Regions from separate parts of the Homo sapiens genome. Here regions 1, 3, 4, 5, 6 and 7 are each linked to region 2. Evidence: promoter capture Hi-C in 16 types of primary human blood cells and fetal thymus (Javierre and others, 2016). All regions are on one chromosome and are shown on one strand. Each heading gives the region's core, a stretch centred on a gene start or on the middle of the fragment in contact. The rest is flanking DNA. Distances are from core to core; before and after follow the strand shown.

What was found. Contacts are between HindIII fragments. The CHiCAGO score rates a contact against its expected background, and 5 or more counts as called.
Region 1: a fragment that was not itself captured here is called in contact with the fragment with the promoter of PLXNB2 in region 2 in 2 of 17 cell types (total B cells and naive B cells); the score reaches 6.6 in total B cells.
Region 3: a contact is called between a fragment that was not itself captured here and the fragment with the promoter of PLXNB2 in region 2, in 1 of 17 cell types (naive CD4 T cells). The highest score is 5.2, in naive CD4 T cells.
Region 4: a contact is called between a fragment that was not itself captured here and the fragment with the promoter of PLXNB2 in region 2, in 1 of 17 cell types (naive CD8 T cells). The highest score is 5.1, in naive CD8 T cells.
Region 5: a fragment that was not itself captured here is called in contact with the fragment with the promoter of PLXNB2 in region 2 in 1 of 17 cell types (monocytes); the score reaches 5.1 in monocytes.
Region 6: a contact is called between a fragment that was not itself captured here and the fragment with the promoter of PLXNB2 in region 2, in 1 of 17 cell types (neutrophils). The highest score is 7.3, in neutrophils.
Region 7: a contact is called between a fragment that was not itself captured here and the fragment with the promoter of PLXNB2 in region 2, in 3 of 17 cell types (monocytes, total B cells and M0 macrophages). The highest score is 5.3, in monocytes.

The regions. Positions count from the first base shown.
Region 1 is chr22:49,818,441-49,821,790 of GRCh38, forward strand. All of the region lies in intron 2 of BRD1 (bromodomain containing 1), which reads right to left. It also overlaps the pseudogene LOC100420885. Among named protein-coding and RNA genes, the nearest start is that of BRD1, 7.8 kb to the right of the region's middle. The HindIII fragment of the contact is 187 bases long and covers 2,002-2,188 here.
Region 2 is chr22:50,306,396-50,309,788 of GRCh38, forward strand. PLXNB2 (plexin B2) reads right to left here and starts at 1,251. Exons shown (of 37, transcript NM_012401.4): 1 at 1,158-1,251. It overlaps DENND6B (DENN domain containing 6B), which reads right to left. Exons shown (of 20, transcript NM_001001794.4): 20 at 2,635-3,393. RefSeq lists an enhancer at 1-104 and silencers at 412-562, 1,083-1,152, 1,163-1,362, 1,523-1,572, 2,273-2,322. The HindIII fragment of the contact is 14,640 bases long and covers 1-2,721 here.
Region 3 is chr22:50,719,274-50,722,314 of GRCh38, forward strand. SHANK3 (SH3 and multiple ankyrin repeat domains 3) reads left to right here. Exons shown (of 25, transcript NM_001372044.2): 24 at 911-3,041. Among named protein-coding and RNA genes, the nearest start is that of ACR, 17 kb to the right of the region's middle. The HindIII fragment of the contact is 7,975 bases long and covers 1-3,041 here.
Region 4 is chr22:50,660,704-50,663,753 of GRCh38, forward strand. No RefSeq gene overlaps it. Among named protein-coding and RNA genes, the nearest start is that of SHANK3, 11 kb to the right of the region's middle. The HindIII fragment of the contact is 8,082 bases long and covers 1-3,050 here.
Region 5 is chr22:49,798,134-49,801,464 of GRCh38, forward strand. It overlaps BRD1 (bromodomain containing 1), which reads right to left. Exons shown (of 13, transcript NM_001304808.3): 4 at 855-986; 5 at 425-553. Among named protein-coding and RNA genes, the nearest start is that of BRD1, 28 kb to the right of the region's middle. The HindIII fragment of the contact is 3,930 bases long and covers 1-3,331 here.
Region 6 is chr22:50,642,750-50,646,167 of GRCh38, forward strand. No RefSeq gene overlaps it. Among named protein-coding and RNA genes, the nearest start is that of ARSA, 16 kb to the left of the region's middle. RefSeq lists enhancers at 604-1,105, 1,106-1,605. The HindIII fragment of the contact is 2,596 bases long and covers 394-2,989 here.
Region 7 is chr22:49,853,410-49,856,708 of GRCh38, forward strand. It overlaps ZBED4 (zinc finger BED-type containing 4), which reads left to right and starts at 435. Exons shown (of 2, transcript NM_014838.3): 1 at 435-580. LOC124905147 (a long non-coding RNA gene) reads right to left here. Exons shown (of 2, transcript XR_007068156.1): 2 at 1,093-1,877. LOC105377205 (a long non-coding RNA gene) reads right to left here and starts at 103. Exons shown (of 5, transcript NR_188597.1): 1 at 1-103. RefSeq lists silencers at 1-622, 793-1,082 and an enhancer at 3,268-3,299. The HindIII fragment of the contact is 470 bases long and covers 1,367-1,836 here.

The DNA.
Region 1 (3,350 bases), core at 845-3,344, 490 kb before region 2:
CAAAAAGAGTTATCAGGAAACCCTGTTTGTCTTTTCACCCCATGTATGAACTCTCATGTGAATGAGTCCTGCAGTAATCCATGTTAAGGGAGCCCTAATTTCAAACTGGTGCAAATGGAAAAGACTTTCCCTTTTCCTTTAAGACTAAAGACAAAATGTCCTCCTGGCCGGGCTCGGTGGCTCACGCCTCTAATCCTAGCACTTTGGGAGGCAGAGGCAGATGGATCACGAGGTCAGGAAATCAAGACCATCCTGGCTAACATGGTGAAACCCCGTCTCTACTAAAAATACAAAAAATTAGCAGGTGTGGTGGTGGGCGCCTGTGGTCCCAGCTACTCAGGAGGCTGAGGCAGGAGAATGGCGTGAACCCGGGAGGTGGAGCTTGTAGTGAGCCGAGATCGTGCCACTGCGCTCCAGCCTAGGTGACAGAGCAAGACTCCGTCTCAAAAAAAAAATGTCATTCTATACAGGTGCAACTCAATCCGTTAATAAAAACTGATGTATGCTGGAGAGAGGAAGTGAAAAGAAAAAATAGGGCTGGGTGCGGTGGTTCACGCCTGTAATCTCAGCACTCTGGGAGGCCAAGGCAGGCAGATCACCTGAAGTCACGAGTTTGAGACCATCCTGGACAACATGGTGAAACCCCATCTCTACAAAAAAAATACAAAAATTAGCCAGACACCGTGGCACACACCTGTAGTCCCAGCTACTCGGGAGGCTGAGGAACGAGGATCGCTTGAACCTGGGAGGTGGAGGCTGCAGTGAGCCGAGATTATGCCATTGCACTCCAGCCTGGGCAACAGAGCGAGGCTTCATCTCAGGAAAAAAAAGAAGAACAGAAAAGAAAAAATAACAATAAATCAATGTAAGGCCAGGCATGGTGGCTCACGCCTGTAATCTCAGCACTTTGGGAGGCCGAGGCAGGCAGATTGCTTGACCCCATCTCACCAAAAAATAAAAACATTAGCAGGGCATGGTGGCACATGCCTGTGGTCCCAGCTACTCAAGAGGCTGAGGTGGGGGAGTCGCTTGAGCCCAGGAGGTCGAGGCTGTAGTGAGCCATAACCATGCCACTGCACCCGTCTGAGCAGAAGAGCAGGACTCTGTTCAGGAGATTCTCCTGCCTCAGCCTCCTGAATAGCTGGGATTACAGGCGCGCACCACCACGCCTGGCTAATTTTTATATTTTTAGTACAGATGGGTTTTCACCATGTTAGCCAGGCTGGTCTCGAACTCCTGACCTCGTGATCTACCCACCTCGGCCTCCCAAAGTGCTGGCATTACAGGTGTGAGCCACACACCCAGCCCTGCCTGTTTTTCAAAGTGTTTATTTACCGCTGTTATTATTTAATCATAGTATATCAAACTTACAAAAAAACAGATTATAACCTTAAAACTATCTCTTTTAGCCTGGCGCAGTGGCTCACGCCTGTAATCCCAGCACTTTGGGAGTTCGAGGCGGGTGGATCACCTGAGGTCAGCAGTTCAAGACCAGCCTGGCCAACATGGTGAAACCCCGTCTCTACTAAAAATACAAAAATCGGCCGGGTGTGGTGGCAGGTGCCTGTAATCCTAGCTACTCAGGAGGCTGAGGCAGGAGAATCACTTGAACCCAGGAGGTGGAGGTTGCAGTGAGCCAAGATCACCGCACTGCACTGCAGCCTGGGCAACAAAGCAAGACTCCACCTCAAAAAAAAGGGGGGAAAAAAAAGAACTATCTTTTTTACTTGAAATTTTAATTTTTTAAACCACTAGAATTATAAAAGCAGTCCGTCCCTGAAGGCAGATTCTGTTCTGTCCACAGGGAATAAGGAAGATCCTCTTTCTCTAAAATCTCTAAAACGCTGCTCAGATGGGGTCTCATCTCCCTTCCAGCGTGACTGGCTGGCCTGAAGCATAACATCCTCAGATGCTCTAGGTGGGTCCTACACCGGAGCCATTGGTTAGTGCACACCATAACCAACTAGACTCAGCATCCCCGCCCACGGCTGCACATCAAGAAGCTTCACCATGGGCCAGGCACAGTGGCTCGTGCCTGTATTCCCAGCTGAGGCTGGGAGGAGGCTGAGGCGGGAAGATCGCTTGAGTCCAAGAGTTTGAGGCTACTGTAAGCCATGATCACGCCACTGCACTCCAACGTGGGCAACAGAACAAGACCCTGTCTCTAAACATAAAATAAAAAATAAGAAGCTTCACCCTCATCTACACAGAATTCAAATGCACAGCTGAGGCCTCCTACATGCACCCAGGGGTAGTGCCCAGGGCCTAAGAACAGGGCTGCCAGATCAGCTGCCTCTCAGACCACAGCAAGGCAGTAAACCCGGTTTCAGGCAGCAGTCAGTACTGTATTGAGAGCCTGCCCCTCACAACCACCCCAGAGGTGGGTCCAGCACCATGGTGCCAACAGGCCAGGCGCACTGGGAGCTCCTCCACTGGTGGCAAGGTGGCCTGAAGCACCAGCATCTCCTGGAGACTGGGAAACCCAGACTGCAGAGACCGCGGCCAGGAACACTCGTCCAGGTTTGTTTCTCTCTCTCTACTCGAAGCTGAAATAATAGTTTATTCCCAAGTTAGGAAAAGAACAGAACCACACAGTACGCGGTTTAGCTCCAATACATGCTTTCAAATATTTAGGTCGAGTTTTCTTCTCAATCAGCCCTGGCCACTTCAGCCCCCATGTCCTGCATGCAAACACTGCCTCCTTCAGTCCTGCCTACCCAACATCAGGAGCCAAAGAACAGAGAGCGTGCGGCCCGGCCAGGCCCGGCCTCTCCCAGAGCAGGTCATCATCTGGTACTGGCCAGGGAAGGGAGCACTTCAGACTTTTGGCTCTTCATTTTGTTAGATCACATTTTGTTTATTTTGCTTCAATTTCAGTAAAGCTGAAATTTTTAGACCTCTTATACAGAAGCTCTTAATACAAACCCTAGACTTTTTGACTCATAGGTAGAAATCCAAGCAAAACCATCTCTTCAAAGTCAGATTAATTTACAAAGACAAACACCTTGGTTTTGACAGGGTTTTCCCTGGATGGGAAGGATTATGAGCATTTTTTGTTCATTCTGTCTGAATTGACTAATTATCTGAGTATTTACAGCTCTGTGAAAAGAAACTGGACTTCACTTTGGTAAAGTAGAGTAATATTAACAAAAATCACTTAAAACTTCTTTTTTTTTTTTTGAGACACAGTTTCACTCTGTCACGCAGGCTGCGGTACAGTAGCACAATCTTAGCTCACTGCAACCTCCCAGCCTCACCGCCCGATGCAGCTCAGCCTGCATGCGTCCCACCTGTGCTGTCCTCCCCTCACATGTGGGGCAGGTCTGACACCTCAGAGGGTCCTGCTCACT
Region 2 (3,393 bases), core at 1-2,500:
CCTCACCTCTGGACAGGAAAGGGAGGGCTCCTCCCACCAGCTGTTCAGCTGTTCCGTGCCAGGGTCATCTGGGCATGGGGCAGGCTGAGAGCCCCCACTTCCCGGCAGCCTCGCTCTCCCACCCGCAAAGGGCTCCTGAGGAAGCTCAACTTTAAAGCCTCACAGGCTGCGCCGAACCTCCAAGCAAGGGCCGAAGTCAGACATTAAGTGGGGAGGGCGGGGGGGTCCAGGGAAGGTGGGGCACAGGGAGCCCTCCAGGCCGCCGGGATCTGCCGGGTTTGGGGCCCACCCTCACCCTCACCCTCACCCTCACCCTCACCCTCACCCTCACCCTCACCCCCTGTCCTGACTCTGCCACAGCCCACAGTGGGCAGACGGACCCCTTTCTTCCTTTCCCAGGGAGCTTCGGGAAGAGAAATCAAGGGCCTGGCAGGAAGCCCCAGGGCGTCCGGGCTCTGAGACCCCCAGATGACAGGGGGAGGCGGGCTCCCCAGATCTGCCGAATAGCCCGACCAGGGGCGCTGGCAGGGCAGGGGCTTCCTGCAGGAGCAGGGTGCGGAGGGGCAGGGTCAGCAGGGGACAGGCAGGGCTCGCGCCCCCGCTTCTGAGACTTTCTGTGTCTCGGGGTGTCCACCCAGACGCCACTCTGGGAACCGCGAGGAGGCCCAGGCAGTGGGGTCTCGCCAGGTGCGGGTGCTCTCCGCCCTGGTCCCCCCGCGCCAAGCAGGCCCCAGGGGGTGCGGGGACGGCCCCCGGGAGCTCGGGCAAATCCAGGCTCCTGTGCCGCTGAGCCTGGGGCCGGCCCGGAGCGCCCGCACCGCGAGACCATCTCCGCTCGGCGCACGGAGCTCGGCGGCTGAAGAGTGAGAGGCAGGCGCGGAGGAGGGATCCGACGCGGCTCCGGAGGGACGCGCAGCCCCCGCCGCCGGGCCCGTCCCCCGAGTCAACACCGGGAAGGGAGTGGGGCGGCAGCGGCCCGGGCCTCGCCGGATGGACCGACGGACGGGGCCCAGGCCCCGGGAGCCCTCCGCGGAGCCGCAGCCGCCGCAGGTCCCCGGGCCCCAGCGCGGCAGGCCCGGGCGGAGCGGCGCTGACGGCGAAGCCCCCCCCACGCCCAGCGAGACGTCCCCCGCAGCCCAGTCCCCCGAGCTCGGTACCTGCACGTCCGCCGCCAAGGCTCGATGGCGCCCGGGCCGCGCTCGGCGCTGCGCTCTGGCCCGCGCTGCTGCCATGGAGACGGGGCCTTTGTGTGGCCGAGGAGGGGCCGGAGCGCGCGGGAGCTGCCGGCCCCGCCCCCGACGAGGGAGAGGAGGGGAGGGCGGGGAGAACAGGAGAAGGGGGGAGAGGGAGAGGGAAAGCGGAGGGGGAGAAGGAGGGGGAGGGGGAGGGGGGAGAGGGGGAGGGGGGAGAGGGGGAGGGGGAAGAGGGGGAGGGGGAGAGGGGGAGGGGGAAGAGGGGGAGGGGGAGGGGAGGGGGAGCAGGAGCGGGGAGGAGAGGGCAGAAGAGAACCGGAGAGGAGGGGAGGGGACGGGAGGGGAGGGGCTGGGCCTGCGCTCCCCGCGCCCCCCACTTCTCCCCTGCCCAGCGGCCACAGCATTGTCTGGTAGGTTCAGGCACCCCAGTTCAGACCCAGGTTCAGCCAGGGCAGCACCCTGCCCACCATGCCGCCGTCCAGGAAGCACGAGCGCCCACAGAGGCCCCATGGCCTGAGCACCCCCACAGGAACCCCGCAGGTCTGAGGGGAGGCCATGGCTTGGTACCAGGGGAGGGCATTATGAGTGCACTCTCGCCTGGCCAGAGGAACGTGAGGGTCCCTGCCAGTCTTGAGATGTGTGGGCACCAGACTCTCACTCCCAGACTGGAAGCATACCAGTCGCTCCCCTGCGGCCTTCAGGGGTGGGGGCTGCTGGGCTTTGGCCCTTTCCCAGGGGTCTCAGGCCCTCAACCTCCCAGGGTAAACTGGGACCTGGAGATGGCCTCCCAGCACATCCCTGGCCTCCAGCAGCACCTTGGGATGCTGCACCCGGGACCCCACCTGGTCCTTCAGGGCCAGGAGGTGGGCGGGCCGAGACCTCTTTCTGGGGGTTCTGGTTTCTGGGACAGAGCTGGCCCCACTTCTGGCATCCCAGGTCCCAAGTCCTGGCCTCAGTGCTCCTAGTGTCCCCTGGGCTTGAGAAGAGGTGGTGAACCGTCTGCAGGGCCAGACCTTGGAGCACGCCTCCACTGCCCTCCCGGAACTGGATGTGCTGAGCAGGAGACAGAAGCATTCCCCAAGCTCTTGCCCCCACCCTGGGTCACCCCTCCCTGGGGCCCGCCTTCCACCCAGACCTGCCCCGTCCTTGCAGCTGGTCAGCTTCCTCCTGTCCCCAGCCAGGCATCCCCTCCTCCTCTGCTTCCCCCACCCGGGATCCGCCCCGCCACATCCTGACAAACTCCCCCAGCCTGACTTAGTTCTTTCAGTCTCTGCCTTCTCCCACCCTCAAGCAGCCAGGCCTTGTTCCTGTCCAAAATCTTCCCTTGGGCCTTGAACCACAATCCACATCACGGCAACCCTACCCTTCACTGCAGAGGACCCCAAAATTACCAGGTTCTGACAAGGTTGCCAACTTTTTATCAAAAAAGGAAAAGACAAGGTCCAGTCACAAAAGGACATTTTAATACCAAAACTGTGGGAAGGCCACTGTTCTAGACTAAAAGGGAGTCTTTAAATAGCCAGCAGGAAGCTTGAGGGTGAGCAGCTGTCCTTCCTGTCCCTGAGCAGGCCCCCTGTGTGCACCCTCAGCCCCGAGCCCCACTCCAGACCTGCTCCCAGCCCTTCCCACCCTCTAGGTTCTGTGGTCCCTGTCCTTCGGGAGGCCTGTGACCACAGCAGTCCTCACCCTCGCCAACTAAGTTCTGCCCAGCAAGCCCTCTTGCCTGCGGGGGCTGGCACTCTGGCCAGGGGTAGAGCTGTCTGGACCTTCCTGCCTCTTCACTGACTGCCCCTGGCCTGGAGTGCGTGGGGCGGGGAGGGCCATGGCCTAGCCCTGGACAGAGGCTCAGCCAACTCAGAGCGGCCCTGACACTGGGGGGGCCACAAGAGGCATCCGGACAGATGGAGCTGGCAGGTCTCCACGCCCAGCCCCCACCCATCCACCCCAGGCCACATTCCACCCCAGGCCTCTTCTGCACAGGTGGGGACAGGCCCTGAGGAAGAGGGGCTGGGACACTACCCCCCACCTTAGCCTTAGCTTCTGCCCAGGGCAATGCTGGCCACCCAGCCCGGTTCCCCCCTCAAGTTCCCCCTTCACACGCCACTATGTGGCCTCACCAGAGCCCTCCAGGGAAATCTGCTTGTGCATTTCTGGATACACAGTGGCCAGGGTCCCTGGGGGCTCCTCAGAGACCAGCCTG
Region 3 (3,041 bases), core at 31-2,530, 410 kb after region 2:
GGGTCACGCTGCCAGTAGGGGTTAAAATGAAACATGCTGGGTGCTCAGCCTGCAGTTCCATTTTGATTGATCCGTCCGTTCTTCCCTTCACCCACTCACCCATGCGGGTCTCTGGGAGGAGCCTCTCAAGGCTTCCTCCACAGGGCACCTCCTTACCTGGGTGGGCATTAGGTCTTTCTCTGCTGGAGGCCTGGCTCCAGTGGCCACAGCCCTGCTGCCCCTCACCCTGCCAGTGTGTCACTCCTGCTCATTTCCGACTATCTTCCTCTCACCTCTGGTTGCCTCCAGGGCTGGTACTTCTGCGTCGGCCTTGTTGATTCTGGGGTGGGGAGCCCTGTACTGGCCCCTCCAAGCCCCTCAGCAGTTCTGTCCCCATGTCTTGCGGGGCTGTCCCTGCCTTTCTGGGATATCTTCTCAGGGCCTGCTTGATGACCCTGGGTTTGGGCAGGTCTTGGCCCCAACCCAGGCCGTCAGAGTTTGTGTCCTTTCTCAGGGGTCCCCGGTGGGGCCCTCCTCCATCCTGTAACTGAACGCACACCTCTCTCCTGTCCTCTTCACAAGAGCCCTCCCCGTGCAGCCCTGGGCCTGGGGCACAGAGCTTGGGCATCCAGGGACCAGCCCAGACCAGGGTCTTGCTCGGAGCCCGGGCTCTGGGCTCCCTGTTTCTCCCCTGCCCTCCATTCCCCGCCCACCACGGGTCCCAACCCCATCTTCCCGAGCATTCTAGCTCCTCGCGCCGGGTTCTGCCGCGGGCGTCCATTGTGTCCGGACGGTGGCTTCCCCGGGGTGGAGTCGGGTCAAGGCTGGCCTCTGTGGGAGGGGGTTGCCGGGGTCCCCAGGAACCTCTCCGAAGGCAGCACCACCCCCCGCCCAGCGCCCTGGCTGGTCTCACCGGCCCTTCCGTCCGCAGGGGAGGACGAGAAGCTGGCGTCCCTGCTGGAAGGGCGCTTCCCGCGGAGCACCTCGATGCAAGACCCGGTGCGCGAGGGTCGCGGCATCCCGCCCCCGCCGCAGACCGCGCCGCCTCCCCCGCCCGCGCCCTACTACTTCGACTCGGGGCCGCCCCCGGCCTTCTCGCCGCCGCCCCCGCCGGGCCGCGCCTACGACACGGTGCGCTCCAGCTTCAAGCCCGGCCTGGAGGCGCGCCTGGGCGCGGGCGCTGCCGGCCTGTACGAGCCGGGCGCGGCCCTCGGCCCGCTGCCGTATCCCGAGCGGCAGAAGCGCGCGCGCTCCATGATCATCCTGCAGGACTCGGCGCCCGAGTCGGGCGACGCCCCTCGACCCCCGCCCGCGGCCACCCCGCCCGAGCGACCCAAGCGCCGGCCGCGGCCGCCCGGCCCCGACAGCCCCTACGCCAACCTGGGCGCCTTCAGCGCCAGCCTCTTCGCTCCGTCCAAGCCGCAGCGCCGCAAGAGCCCCCTGGTGAAGCAGCTGCAGGTGGAGGACGCGCAGGAGCGCGCGGCCCTGGCCGTGGGCAGCCCCGGTCCCGGCGGCGGCAGCTTCGCCCGCGAGCCCTCCCCGACCCACCGCGGTCCGCGCCCGGGTGGCCTCGACTACGGCGCGGGCGATGGCCCGGGGCTCGCGTTCGGCGGCCCGGGCCCGGCCAAGGACCGGCGGCTGGAGGAGCGGCGCCGCTCCACTGTGTTCCTGTCCGTGGGGGCCATCGAGGGCAGCGCCCCCGGCGCGGATCTGCCATCCCTACAGCCCTCCCGCTCCATCGACGAGCGCCTCCTGGGGACCGGCCCCACCGCCGGCCGCGACCTGCTGCTGCCCTCCCCGGTGTCTGCCCTGAAGCCGTTGGTCAGCGGCCCGAGCCTGGGGCCCTCGGGTTCCACCTTCATCCACCCACTCACCGGCAAACCCCTGGACCCCAGCTCACCCCTGGCCCTTGCCCTGGCTGCCCGAGAGCGAGCTCTGGCCTCCCAGGCGCCCTCCCGGTCCCCCACACCCGTGCACAGTCCCGACGCCGACCGCCCCGGACCCCTGTTTGTGGATGTACAGGCCCGGGACCCAGAGCGAGGGTCCCTGGCTTCCCCGGCTTTCTCCCCACGGAGCCCAGCCTGGATTCCTGTGCCTGCTCGCAGGGAGGCAGAGAAGGTCCCCCGGGAGGAGCGGAAGTCACCCGAGGACAAGAAGTCCATGATCCTCAGCGTCCTGGACACATCCCTGCAGCGGCCAGCTGGCCTCATCGTTGTGCACGCCACCAGCAACGGGCAGGAGCCCAGCAGGCTGGGGGGGGCCGAAGAGGAGCGCCCGGGCACCCCGGAGTTGGCCCCGGCCCCCATGCAGTCAGCGGCTGTGGCAGAGCCCCTGCCCAGCCCCCGGGCCCAGCCCCCTGGTGGCACCCCGGCAGACGCCGGGCCAGGCCAGGGCAGCTCAGAGGAAGAGCCAGAGCTGGTGTTTGCTGTGAACCTGCCACCTGCCCAGCTGTCGTCCAGCGATGAGGAGACCAGGGAGGAGCTGGCCCGAATTGGGTTGGTGCCACCCCCTGAAGAGTTTGCCAACGGGGTCCTGCTGGCCACCCCACTCGCTGGCCCGGGCCCCTCGCCCACCACGGTGCCCAGCCCGGCCTCAGGGAAGCCCAGCAGTGAGCCACCCCCTGCCCCTGAGTCTGCAGCCGACTCTGGGGTGGAGGAGGCTGACACACGCAGCTCCAGCGACCCCCACCTGGAGACCACAAGCACCATCTCCACGGTGTCCAGCATGTCCACCTTGAGCTCGGAGAGCGGGGAACTCACTGACACCCACACCTCCTTCGCTGACGGACACACTTTTCTACTCGAGAAGCCACCAGTGCCTCCCAAGCCCAAGCTCAAGTCCCCGCTGGGGAAGGGGCCGGTGACCTTCAGGGACCCGCTGCTGAAGCAGTCCTCGGACAGCGAGCTCATGGCCCAGCAGCACCACGCCGCCTCTGCCGGGCTGGCCTCTGCCGCCGGGCCTGCCCGCCCTCGCTACCTCTTCCAGAGAAGGTCCAAGCTATGGGGGGACCCCGTGGAGAGCCGGGGGCTCCCTGGGCCTGAAGACGACAAACCAACTGTGAT
Region 4 (3,050 bases), core at 23-2,522, 350 kb after region 2:
AGTTTATTTTTTTCTCTTCCTTTTCTGGAAATATTTTTTTCATCAATCTCATTCTTAAATGAATGAGAACTATAATTCTGAGTTAATGGTTATTCTTAACTCTCTTTCTTGACCTTCACTGTTGTTGTCAGTCTAATTATTCCTTTGGGAGATATTTATCTTTTCTTTTGACTGTTTTTTTTAAATTAACAAATGAAAATTATATATATTTACCATGTGCAACATATTGAGCTAATCAATATATGCATTACCCCACATCATTTTTTATGGTGAGAACACTTAAAATATACTTTCTTAACAGTTTTCAAGTACACTATACATTGTTATTAACTATAGCCAACATGTTGTACAGTAGAGCTCTTGAACTTATTCCTTCTTTTTTTTTGTTTTGTTTTGTTTTTTTGAGATGGAGTCTCGCTCTGTTGCCCAGGCTGGAGTGCAGTGGCGCAATCTCGGCTCGCTGCAATCTCTGCCTCCCAGGTTCACGCCATTCTCCCGCCTCAGCCTCCCAAGTAGCTGGGGCTACAGGCGCCCGCCACTACGCCCAGCTAATTTCTTGTGTTTTTAATAGAGACGGGGTTTCACCATGTTAGCCAGGATGGTCTTGATCTCCTGACTGTGATCTGCCCGCCTTGGCCTCCCAAAGTGCTGTGATTACAGGCGTGAGCCACCATGCCAGGCGGAACTTATTCTTTCTAATTAAAATTTTGAATTCCCTGACCAACATCTCCCCCACAACCTCCTTGCTCCTGATAACCACCATTCCACCCCATTTCTGAGTTCTTTTTATGTTCCACACATATGTGAGATTATGCTGCGTTTGTCTTTCTGTGCCTGGCTTATTTCACTTAACATAATCTCCTCCAAGTTCATCCATGTTGTCAAAAATAGGAGACTAACCCGAGTGGATTGCTTGAATTCAGGAGTTTGAAACCAGCCTGGGCAACATGGTGAGACCTTGTCTCTAAAATAAAAAAAAAACTTGGATTACATTATTAAATAGATTTTTAATCCCAGCTACTCAGGAGGCTGAGGCAGGAGAATTGCTTGAACCCGGGAGGTGGAGGTTGCAGTGAGCCGAGATCGCGCCACTGCACTCCAGCCTGGGTGACAGTGTGAAACTCTGCCTCAAAAAAAAAAAAAAAAGCTACTAGAACTAAGCAATTTAACAAGGTCACAGACTACAAAGTTTATATGCAAAAGATAGTTGTGTGATAGGTTGAGGTGGGTGGATCCCTTGAGCTCAGGAGTTCGAGACCAGCCTGGGCAACATGGCGAAAACCTGTGTATTTTGTGTTTCTCTACTAAAAATACAAACATTAGCTGGGCATGGTGGTGTGTGCCTGTAGTCCTAGCTACTCAGGAGACTGAGGTGGGAGGATAGCTTGAGCCTGGGAAGTTAAGGCTGCAGTGAGCCAAGATCATGCCACTGCACTCCATCCTGGGAAACAGAGTGAGACCCTGTCTCAAAAAAAAAAAAAAAAAAAAAAAAAAGAGGTGATTTTCTATACTATCAACAATTAGAAAATGAGGCTGGGCACGGTGGCTCATGCCTGTAATCCCAGCATTTTGGGAGGCCGAGGCAGGTGGATCACCTGTCAAGAGTTCACGACCAGCCTGGCCAACATGGTGAAACCCTGTCTCTACTAAAAATACAAAAAATTAACCGGTGTGGTGGCGGATGCCTGTAATCCCAGCTACTCGAGAGGCTGAGGCAGAAGAATCACTTGAACCCGGGGGGCAGAGGTTGCAGTGAGCCAAGATCATGCCATTGTACTCTAGCCTGGGCAACAAGAGTGAAACTCCATCTCAAAAAAAAAAATTAGAAAATGAAATTAAAATTATATTAAAATTTTTATTTGTAATACATGAAATAACACAAAATTTTTAGGAATGGATTTAGCAAAAATGTGTAAGAATGCTACACTGAAAGCTACTAAACATTGCTGAGATAAATTAAAGAGGACCAAAATATGTGGGAGGCTGAGGCAGGAGGATTGCTTGAAGCCAGGAGTTTGAGACCAGCCTTGGCAATAAAGCAAGACCCTGCCCCTACAAAATAAATAAACAAATAAATACATGAGGAAATATACTATGTTCATATAATAGAAAACTCAATATTATTAAGATGTCTATTCTCTCAATATATTTACAAATTCAGTGCAATACCAGTCAAATTCCCAGCAGGCTTTCTTGGGGAGTTAGAAATTGACAAGTTGATCCTAAAATTTATATAGAAATAAAAATGACCTAGAATAACCAACAAATTAAAAAAGAACAAAGTTACAGGACTTATCTGCTTTCAAGACTTACTATAAAGTTACAGAAATTAAACAGTATGGAATTGAAGAAAGTTATAAATATAGATCAAAGGAAAAGAATAGAGACAGAGTCCAGAAATAGACCCACACATATGTGGACAACTGATTTTCAACAAAAGTGCAAAGGCAATTCAGTGGAAAAGGAAGTCTTTTTAAAAATGGTGCTGAGAGGTCCCTAGAATAGTCAAATACATGGAGACAGAAAGCAGAACTGTGGTTCTAAGAGCTGGGTGGAAAGGAGACTGGAGGACTTATTGTTCAGTGAGTATAGTTTAATACGGGGTGATGAAAATGTCCTGGAGATGGTGGCGAATTCACTTAATGCCACAAAATTGTATACTTAAAAATTGTTAAAATGGTAAATTTTGTTATGTATATTTTACCACAATAAAAACTAAATTTAAAAATCTTAAAAATGGTTCTGAAACAACTGGACATGCTCCCCCCAAAAAAATATGAACAGCTACCTTTTCTTGATACCAAAAACAAAAATTAACTTGAAATTAATGACAGGCCTAAATGTAAATGCTAAAACTACACAGCCTGGGCAACATGGTGAGACCCCCATCTCTTTTTTTTTGAGACGAATTCTCGCTCTGTAGCCCAGGCTGGAGCGCAGTGGCGTGATCTCGGCTCACTGCAACCTCTGCCTCCTGGGTTCAAGTAATCCTCCTGCTGTAACGCAGGCGTGCGCCAACGTGCCCACCTAATTTTTGTATTTTTAGTGGA
Region 5 (3,331 bases), core at 120-2,619, 510 kb before region 2:
AAAAGAATCATTTACAAACTAAAACAGGATATTAGTTGACTCTATATTTATTATTCCATATAACCCACAAGCCCATCCTATCTGAGAGCCACACACAGACACGCAGACGGTACAGACATAAGACCCAAGTACTGCAGGGACCTTCCCGACCCCAGCTCCTTCAGCTAAAGCACGCTGGAGGGTGCCGGGCGGATGCTGCCACAGCCCAGGGTACTGTCTGCACAGGGCCTCTTGCCCACTGCACTTTCAGTATTTTACAATGAAATGTATCACTTTTATAATTTAAAAACAAATACGTTAAATAAAAACGAGAATTAAGAACACAAGGGATGTACTCTAGCCAATCACACGTTTCCCGGTCAAACGGCAGCACAAATCCACAGTCACACATGCGGCAGGACAGACGAGCGCCGCAAACACCCACCTCCTTCAGACTCACGGGCTGCGCAAATATCCTGGCGGGGTCCTTGTCTTGCAGCTGGTCCAGCACTGAGCGCAGCAGCACCGTCAGCGGGGTCAGCCGCAGCTCCATGGCGACCTGCTCCACCTTCACCTGGGGGGGCCCAGCAGAGCCTCAGCTTTAGGGAGCCGCACATGCGTCTCAGCCCCACCACGCGCCCCACAGCCACAAGCAGCCCCCACAGGCTCCTGTGCTTCCGTCCAGGCATAGGACAACGCAGCCTCCACTTAGGGCTCTGCAACCCATGGCAGCCAGGCACCCAGCCTGGGCTGAGCAAGGCACTGCTGTGGGCCAGGACCCACCGGGTGCAGCCCACCCTCTGCAGGAGCTGCCAGCGTCCCACCCACGCCCCGTGGCCAGTGGTGCACTCCACGCGGGACAGGCCCAGCCCCACCTGCTCACGCTTGAGCTTCTCCCGCTTGCGCAGCAGCTCGATCAGCAGGCGAGCGCGCTCCAGGTCGTGCCGCAGCCGCTGCCAGTACTTCAGCTTCTCTTTGGCAGCCTTCATCTCCTCATCATTTTCTCTCTGAGAACAGTGAACACTTCCGTCAGTCAAACCCAGAGGCTCCTTCTGCAAAAGGCCTCAGATACCATGCAGGTGAGACCCCAAGAGGCATCCACGTCAGGGGTCCTGCAGGCCCATCCTGGGGAGGACAACAGACCACCCTCACTAGAGAGCCCCAGGACAGCACCGGGACAGAGGGGACAGAGGAGACAGAGGGGATGGAGGGGACAGAGGGGACCGCCAGGCCAAGGTGAGCAGGGGGCTGGCCCCGGTGCACAGGTTCCACCCTCCAGAGAGGACAGAGGCCTCCGCAAGCTGGCGGCGGGGGGGGCCTTCACAGAACCAGAAAGGCCCACAAAGGCGGGGCCAGGACAGAATGGGGGACCCTTGAGGACCCACCTCCAGGACAGCTGGGAATGGAGGGAGCGGCTGGAAAGAAACCAGGTGCACAGAAAACCACATGCTGGGCCCATCCTGGCTTGGACAGAGCATGACGGGGGCCTGGCACACAGCCGACCTGCTGCCCTGCCCTGCACAGCGCCTCCATCCCGACACACGTTTCCCCACAGCCAGGGTCCCATTTCCATTGATAGCACCTGCTCCCTTCTCAGTGGACAGAAGAGTGCGCCAGACAGCACAGGCCGCCAGCCTCAACCCAGCCAACATCCACACCAGGGTGATCAGAAGAAAATCAGAGCCCTGCAAAGGCCATGACACAGATGGTCGCAGGAGAGTAGGCCACCTGGGTCTGCCCTCAGCCCTGTCCTCACCATGTCCCCCAGGCCTGGCCGCATGAGGCCTGCTCGTCACAGTGCCGGGGCACCCTGACCCTACCTCAAAGGGGAGAGGAAGTCAACGAGGGAGTTGGCCTGAGTGGGCCCCCAACACCTGTCATCCTCCACAGCTGCAGGACACGCGCGCCCTGCCAGCCTCAGGACAGCCGTGGCCATCAGTTTCTGGCACATGCTTCACAGCCCTGAGACCCTCCTCTCCCCCAACGCCTCTGTCCCCGGGTTCCCACCTGCCCACCTCAGGGTACTGTCATAGCTTTTCAAAGGACCGAGGGTGTGAAGGCAAAGACTGCTGGACTACAAGATGCAAGGACCCCGGACTCCAAACTGCTCAGAAAAGGAGGCTCAAGGAGGGAGGCCGAGCCCCGCACCCCCACCCCCAAGGCCAGGCCTCTCCATGGCGAGGCAGAGCGTTGCTGCGCTGATGTCCCCTGAAGTGAGGATCTCTGGGTTTTCCTCAATGCTGCTGAACACCCTCAGGCAGGAAATCGGGGCTAAGAGTAACAAGATCCACATCAACTCAAGCAAAGGCAGGAAAATGTGGGCTCCAAAAACCAAGCTCCCCGGAGCATCTGAGTATTGCCTGTCCCTCAGCTTGCAATCGACACTTCTGAAAACCTCGGCCAAAAGGACATTTGGCCTGGGAATCTGTTACGAAGCGGAAGAAATCTCCTCATCACCAGGAAGCCCTTTATCACGCACTGGCTGCTAAGCAAACTTACTAGTCTGCTCCCCAACCTGGTTTAACAAACGCCATCGGCAGTGGCAGGGGCCCCGTTGACAGCACCTGGGCCCAAGGTCCCATGACACATGCAGCCTCATCCACTCAGAAGGATCAAGGTTCCTTACTCGGCTCTCAAGGGCTCGATATTTCCCATGTAAAAATCAACAGTGGGAGGCTCCACGAGAAAGGACAGAAGTGAAGAAGCACTCAGGCATCCCCACTGCCGGGAAGAAGCTGAGCGCCTCCGCGTCCATTCCAGACACATGGGGGAGACACAGGGCAGGGCTAGGCGACGGTCAGGTTAAAATCGCCTCTGCTGGGAGGACAGGCCAGCTCCTGGGGTGAGGGCCCACAGTGTTACAGAGTGGCCGACCCCAGGCCTCCTGGCAACAGCACCCAGCTCCTGCCACTGGGCCCAATGCCGCCAGCAGGTGCGTGGGACTGGCAGAGGCCACACACGCAGCACAGCAAGGACGATGTGGGCAGCAGCGCCCAGCATGCCACAGGACAGACACTGGGAAAGCTGCAGGATGCGCTCCCAGGACAGGAAGGGTGGGCCACGGGAGCAGGAGACAGTGGGACGCCACCAGCATACACACAAATCGCTGCTCACCCTTTATAAAGCTAAGCTGCCGCCCCCGTTCTCCCTGCGGCCTTCAACGGCCACACACACCAGAACAAAAACCAGGGCCTATATGCGCAGCCAGCACAGACCCGCCATCGCTGCAGCACCCTCGGCGCCTGCTGGCCTCTCAAGAGACCCCGTCCAGTTCATCCACCTGCCCCCACCACAGGGTCAGGCTGGGGCAGGTACACAGAGACACAGAGGAATCAAATGCATCAGGTACTTC
Region 6 (3,418 bases), core at 442-2,941, 340 kb after region 2:
TTTTTTTTTTTTTTTTTGAGACGGAGTCTCGCTGCGTCGTCCAGGCTGGCTGGAGTGCAGTGGCGTGATCTCGGCTCAATGCAAGCTCCGCCTCCCGGGTTCACGCCATTCTCCTGCCTCAGCCTCCTGAGTAGCTGGGACTACGGGAGCCCGCTACCACGCCTCGCTAATTTTTTAATATTTTTTTAGTAGAGATGGGGTTTCACCGTGTTAGCCGGGGTGGTCTCAATCTCCTGACCTTGTGATCCGCCCACCTCGGCCTCCCAAAGTGCTGGGATTACAGGCGTGAGCCACTGCGCCCGGCTTGGGGGCACAGTCTTGAGCAGATGAGGACGGAATCCACTGCCCACAAGAACCGTGGCAGGTGTGAGGTAGCTGCTGTGTGGCAATGAAAGCTTCTCTGCTTGGGCAGACGGCAGCTCCTGAACCTTCTCCGGAGCCCATCTGTGCACTTCCTTGTAAAATCCAGTTTTAGTAAGGACCTGATCACCCTTTATGTAACCACCCAGTGAGTTCACTTTGCCCGCTGCCTGCACAGAGCCGATTTATCAAGACAGGGGAATTGCAATAGAGAAAGAGTAATTCACGCAGAGCCGGCTGTATGGGAGACCAGAGTTTTATTATTACTCAAATCAGTCTCCCCGAGCATTCGGGGAGCAGAGTTTTTGAGGGTAATTTGGTGAGTGGGGGAAGGCCAGTGAGTTGAGAATGCTGATTGGTTGGGTTGGAGACAAAATCATGGGGAGCCGAAGCTGTCCTCTTGTGCCGAGTCAGCTGCTGGGTTGAGGCCACAGGATCAGATGAGCCAGTTTATGGATCTGGGTGGTGCCAACTGATGCATCAAGCGCAGGGTCTGCAAATACCTCAAGCGCTGATCTTAGGAGCAGTTTAGGGAGGGTCAGAATCTGCACTGATCTTAGGAGCAGTTTAGGGAGGATCAGAATCTGCACTGATCTTAGGAGCAGTGTAGGGAGGGTCAGAATCTGCACTGATCTTACTTAGGAGCAGTTTAGGGAGGATCAGAATCTGCACTGATCTTAGGAGCAGTGTAGGGAGGATCAGAATCTGCACTGATCTTAGGAGCAGTTTAGGGAGGGTCAGAATCTGCACTGATCTTAGGAGCAGTTTAGGGAGGGTCAGAATCTGCACTGATCTTAGGAGCAGTGTAGGGAGGGTCAGAATCTGCACTGATCTTAGGAGCAGTTTAGGGAGGGTCAGAATCTGCGCTGTTCTTACTTAGGAGCAGTTTAGGGAGGATCAGAATCTGCGCTGTTCTTACTTAGGAGCAGTTTAGGGAGGATCAGAATCTGCGCTGATCTTACTTAGGAGCAGTTTAGGGAGGATCAGAATCTGCGCTGATCTTACTTAGGAGCAGTTTAGGGAGGATCAGAATCTGCACTGATCTTACTTAGGAGCAGTTTAGGGAGGATCAGAATGTGCACTGATCTTACTTAGGAGCAGTTTAGGGAGGATCAGAATCTGCACTGATCTTACTTAGGAGCAGTTTAGGGAGGATCAGAATCTGCACTGTTCTTACTTAGGAGCAGTTTAGGGAAGATCAGAATCTTGCAGCCTCCAGCAGCATGACTCCTAAACCATAATTTGTAATCTTGTGGCTAATTTGTTAGTCCTATAAAGGCAGACTAGTCCGCAGGGAAGAAAGAGGTTTGTTTGGGGAAAGGGCTGTTCATCTTTGTTTTAAACTGTCAACTATAAACCAAGCTCCTCCCAAAGTTAGTTCAACCTGCGCCCATGGAGGAACAAGCATGGCTTAAAGGCTAGAAGCAGGATGGAGCTGGTTAGATGTTAGATGTTAGATCTCCTTCACTGCTTCAGTCGCAGTTTTGCAAAGGCGGTTGCAATCATATCTGGTCAGGTTCCTCACCCTCCACCACCTGGCAGGTGATGTTGGTCACTCTGGCCTGTCCTCAGCAAGAATCCTCTTCACACCTGATGCTTTCCCTTAGTACATTAACATCTCCTGCCCCCACCCTGCTCCTTGGCTATAAACTCCCAGTTACCCAGGCTGTATTTGGGTTTGAGTCCAGTCTTTCTCCCCCGCTGCCAATTCCCCTTCCAGTGGTCTCTATACCTCTGGTGATGGTCCTGAATGAAGTGTGCCTGACTGTGCTTTAACAAGGGTCATTGAGTCACTTTTGTCTCTGATATAGTGCCCTCAAGCTGTCTGCCCAGGCTGGCTGCAGGCATCCTCCAGCCTCCGGCCACTGAGCTTGCTGTTTCCCCAACCTGGAATCCTGCTCCCTGGACTCCTTCATGCCCACCACTGTGGCATTCTCTCAGGAGGGCAGCCTGGTCCCCAAGCTCTCTCTCCCACTCCTGTGCCCAGGCATGAGCTTGTGAAAGGAAAATAAATCTTGGGGCCCCAGAATCACTAAGCTAAAGGGAAGAGTCAAGCTAGGAACTGCTTAGGGCAAACCTGCCTCCCATTGTATCCAAAGTCACCCGTCTGCTCACTGAGATAGATGTATATCTGATCTACTTATGACCTGGGAGTCCCCTCCCTGCTTCCAGTTGTCCCGCCTTTCTGAACCAAAGCAATGTTCGTCTTACGTATGTTCATTGATGTCTTGTGTCTCCCTAAAATGTATAAAACAAAACTGTGTTCTGACCACCTTGGGGACATGTTGTCAGGACCCCCTGAGGCTGTGTCACGAGCATGTGTCCTCAACCTCGGCAAAATAAACTTTCTAAATTAACTGAGAGCATCTCAGATATTCGGGGTTCACATTTTGGTAACCACGGAGGGATTCTGAGTGGAGATGCCCCTGATTTGGACAAATCTCCTATCAGTGCTTGGTACCAGCATGAGCTAACTTTATGGCTCAAACCAACAGGACAATTTGCTGAGATCTGGCAGCATCCCCTCCAGAGAATCCCTGAGCTTCCAAAATTTGGTTAAGATCTAAAGTTTATTTGCTGTACAACTCCCTTCTTTTTGGAGTTTGTCTTGCGTCCAACAAGGAAGGCAAGCTTTCATGCTTCCATGATGATGGAACGCAGGTAACTCCTTTATGGAGTTTGAGCTCGATCCCAGCAGGGAAGACGAGCTCGAGTTTTTTCCTGCTTCTAGGATGGTAGAGAGCCATCTTCGGCCTGAGACCCATCCCTAGGTAAGTAGCCGAATTGGGGTTTTGTCTTGGCTAACGTTTAACCATCAGCTGGTCTTAATTTCTCCATTAGACCCTTCTGTGATCATATTGTTGGGGTTTTTTGTTGTTTATTCTGGTCTTTCTCCCATCAGATTTGACCAACCATACCTGACTTGGTCAAATCTGAGTGAGAATTCCAAATTATGGATAACAAGCCTGTCTAATTTGGCTAAAATTCTTTGCAGCTGCAGAAGTGGAAAAAACAACAAAACAAAGAAAACCAGAGAACCATGCACTTGGTTTCTGTG
Region 7 (3,299 bases), core at 352-2,851, 450 kb before region 2:
TCTGCGCCAGGTAAGGGGGTTCGGGGCGGGACCGGGAACCGCGCTGCTAGCCGTCCCGGAAACCCGCGGTGGGCCGTTGGGTGCGCGCCGAGCCGCTGCCAACTGCCAAGCCACGGGACGAAACCAAGGCGCCCGCGCCCCGCCCAGCCAGAGCGCCTAAGCCCTTCCCGTCGCCCGCCAGCGCCGGAGCGCCCACTGCGCCTGCGTAGTTTGCCCTCCTGGACCCGGGGGCGGAGCCGAAGCGCGCATTGCGCCTGCGTCTTCCGCCCGACCCCGCCCCAGCGGCCGGGCCTCCGGCGCTCCGTCCTCCCGCCCGGCCAGGGACGAGGCGGGGCGGGTACGCGGACACTGCGCCTGCGAGAGTAGGCCCCGCCCCCGATCGGCCCCGCCCCCGGCCAGCCCCGCCCCGCGCCGCGCGGGGCCCTGGGAGGGGCGCAGCGTCCGGCGGCGTCGCGGGCGGCGGGCGGCGGGGCCGCGGGAGGGGCGCGGGGGCAGACAAAGCCGCGGTAATGAATGGAGCGTCCGCCCGCGCCGCCGTCGTCCGCAGCCGGCCGGGAGCCGCCCCAGAGGCCGGGCCGAGGTGAGTGCGCGGGCGCCGCCGCCCCGCCGCCTGCCGCGAGCCCCGTCCCCCGCGGACCGCGCCGGGGCCGGGCCGGGCCGCGCCATTGTCTGCGCCGCGCCGGGGCCAGGGCCGGGGCCAGGCGGGCGGGGGCGCGGTTCCGTGGCCTCGGGGTCCCCGCCCGGCGCCGCCCCGGACCCGCCCCCGCGCGGACCCCGGCCCTGACAGCTGGCGCGGGGGCGGCGCCGACTGAGCGGCCGAGTGCCGGGGGTCGGCGCCCGGCCTGGCCCACGTGCCCGCGCCGTTGCTTCCGGGCGGACGGGACGGGGCTCGGGCTCGGGGCGCCGCCCGGGTCCGCCGGGAGCGCGCTGTCCCGGCCACGTCGAGTTAACCCCGCGAGCCCCGTCCCTGGGACTTCTCTGGACGTGTCATTCCCGTCCCACCTCCAGGAAGGGCCACCTGGGCCCTGCTTCATGTCTCAGCCCAGACGGGTCCTTGCGACGCGCCCCGAGGCAGGTTATTGTACGTGGTTCTGGGGATGACCGTTCACATTTAATGAATAAAAATGTAACTTGCCTTGCGAACCATAATTTCAAATGTTTTTCGACTGCAGTGGTTTTCCTACACCCAAATGAGCTCGCAGTCAGTTTTGTTTCTTCTTTTGTCCCGTTGTGTGGCCCACACCGCCTTCGTTGCTAAGAGAATCGCAGCCCCTCGGGCTCCCTTCTGCGCCTTTCTATTCCGGGTGGCCCTGGTAGACCCGGGCACCTCTGTGGAAACACGTCCCGGCCAAGCTGAGCCGTCAGAAGCTTCTGTTGGTGTTCTCGTGTTGGTCGAAAGGGAAGTTATTTATTTTGAAGTTAACTCTGATCAGATTACGTTTTTAGAAATCCATTCAGACCTCATAGTGAGGCCAGTTTGGTAAAGCAAGGGCATCCTGCGACTTTTTACACAGAAATGTTTTTTATTTTTTCTGTGTATGTCATTCATAGTGACAAAATTGAGGCTAGGAAGGATTTGGTTGGGATTTTTTTTTAAGTGCTATGAATAAGCCACATTTTGATTATGAATTAATTGCAATTACTAAACAAAGTTACTTTGCAAGAGGAAAGTTTACAGGAGTTTGATTCCATACTCCGAGGGTTTCCAATGGGACGTCCGTACAAGGCTGCACACTTCCCGTAGTCCTTAAACGGATTATATCTGCTTGTCATGATTGGCTTTTTTTCAAGAAAAGATCTAGCACAAGTTAAGAGAGATTCTGTGAATCTTGAAAAAGCTTCAGAGGCCCGGTCTTTGAGGTGAGGACACAGTTAATCTATATGGAAAGAAACCTAAGACTTTTAGTCCACTTGACAGGTGGTTACAGGGTCTCCCCCAACACACACTCTTGTCCAGGTAATTCCTGAATAAGGTGGTTGATGTTGTTGGATGTAAAACCTCTGCTCTTTAAGGTTACCTCCTCCCCAACCCCCTCCACACACACAGTGAGTAACTCAGCTGTGCAAAGTATGTCCATAACACCTTGCAGAAAGACTAAAAAAATTACTAGGGGAGCGGACTGACTTCTGTGTGTGTGCAGAGGAGCTGAGAAGCAGCTTCTTTAGCGAAAGGTGTGTGTGTGTGTGTGTCTCAGATCCTTGGTGAGGAGCCCTGGGGAGTGGACTCCTGGCGGCATGAGGAGCAGGAAGTGACCGTGGTCAGTGCCGTCCTTCACTTTGTTTTGCGTTTTTTTCTTTGCCTGGCTTTAGCTTCTGGTCTCATTCTCTTTGGTGTGGTGGTTGTCTTTTGAGAGGAGGGAGCAGGTGAAACAGCTGGGCGTGGCTTTGCCCAGCCCTGGGGTAGAGGCCAAGCTGGCCCTTCCTTACCAACGTTGTTTCCTTCACTGTTTAAATCTCAGGACCTGAGAATGTACCTATAGGAATTGCTCTTATTTACATTTGGCTGTGTAAGAAAGTCACTGTGCCTTTAGCCCGTGACACCCCTTAGCGGTTTGGTTTTGGCTTTCTCTTTTAGTGTCTGTGGATTCCAGCAGCTCTCTGGCTTCAGCCCTTTCAAGGATTCGGGCCTCTCTGCATCCCAGCCTTCCAGGCCCTTCTGCTCCCCACTTTTTAGCACCTAGGTTTTTCTACATTCTGCAGTACCTCAGATCCCTTCCTTGGTCATCACTGGATATGTGCTTTTGTAGTTCAAATTCTGGGAGGCATTGTTAGGAATAAAATAAGCTCTTTGCCATTTCTGAGGCGGAGGGGAGCAGGAGAGACAGAGGTGCTTGCCTCTCTGCCTGCTGGGGCCATGGTGGTTTTCAAAGAAGGCCCTGGCCGTAGGGAACATGGTGGTGGTGAGGAGCAGCGTAAACCAGAGAAAAAGGCTCAGTAAGTGCTTCAAGGAGAAACACCGGCAGGTGAGAGCAGGGGTAATCCCAGTTTCTCAGGAAAGCATGCTCCGGAGACCTCATAGGGAGAGGAGGTTGCCCTGAAGGGTCTGGGGGCGATGGCGGAAGCCCCAGGAGAGCATTGTCCATGAGGTGCAGAGGCAGCCTCACGGCATCCCAGTGCGTACCTCCTGCCCGGCCCAAGCGCCTGCTGCTGAAGCCGCCTCCCAGCTCCCCCGGGTTGTTTCGGAATTCAGGGGACATGCAGCCTAAATGACCCACACTGGAATCCCGGCCGGCTTCCCATCCCTCGTTCTAGGTGAAGGCCGCGCTGGAATCCCGGCCGGCTTCCCATCCCTCGTTCTA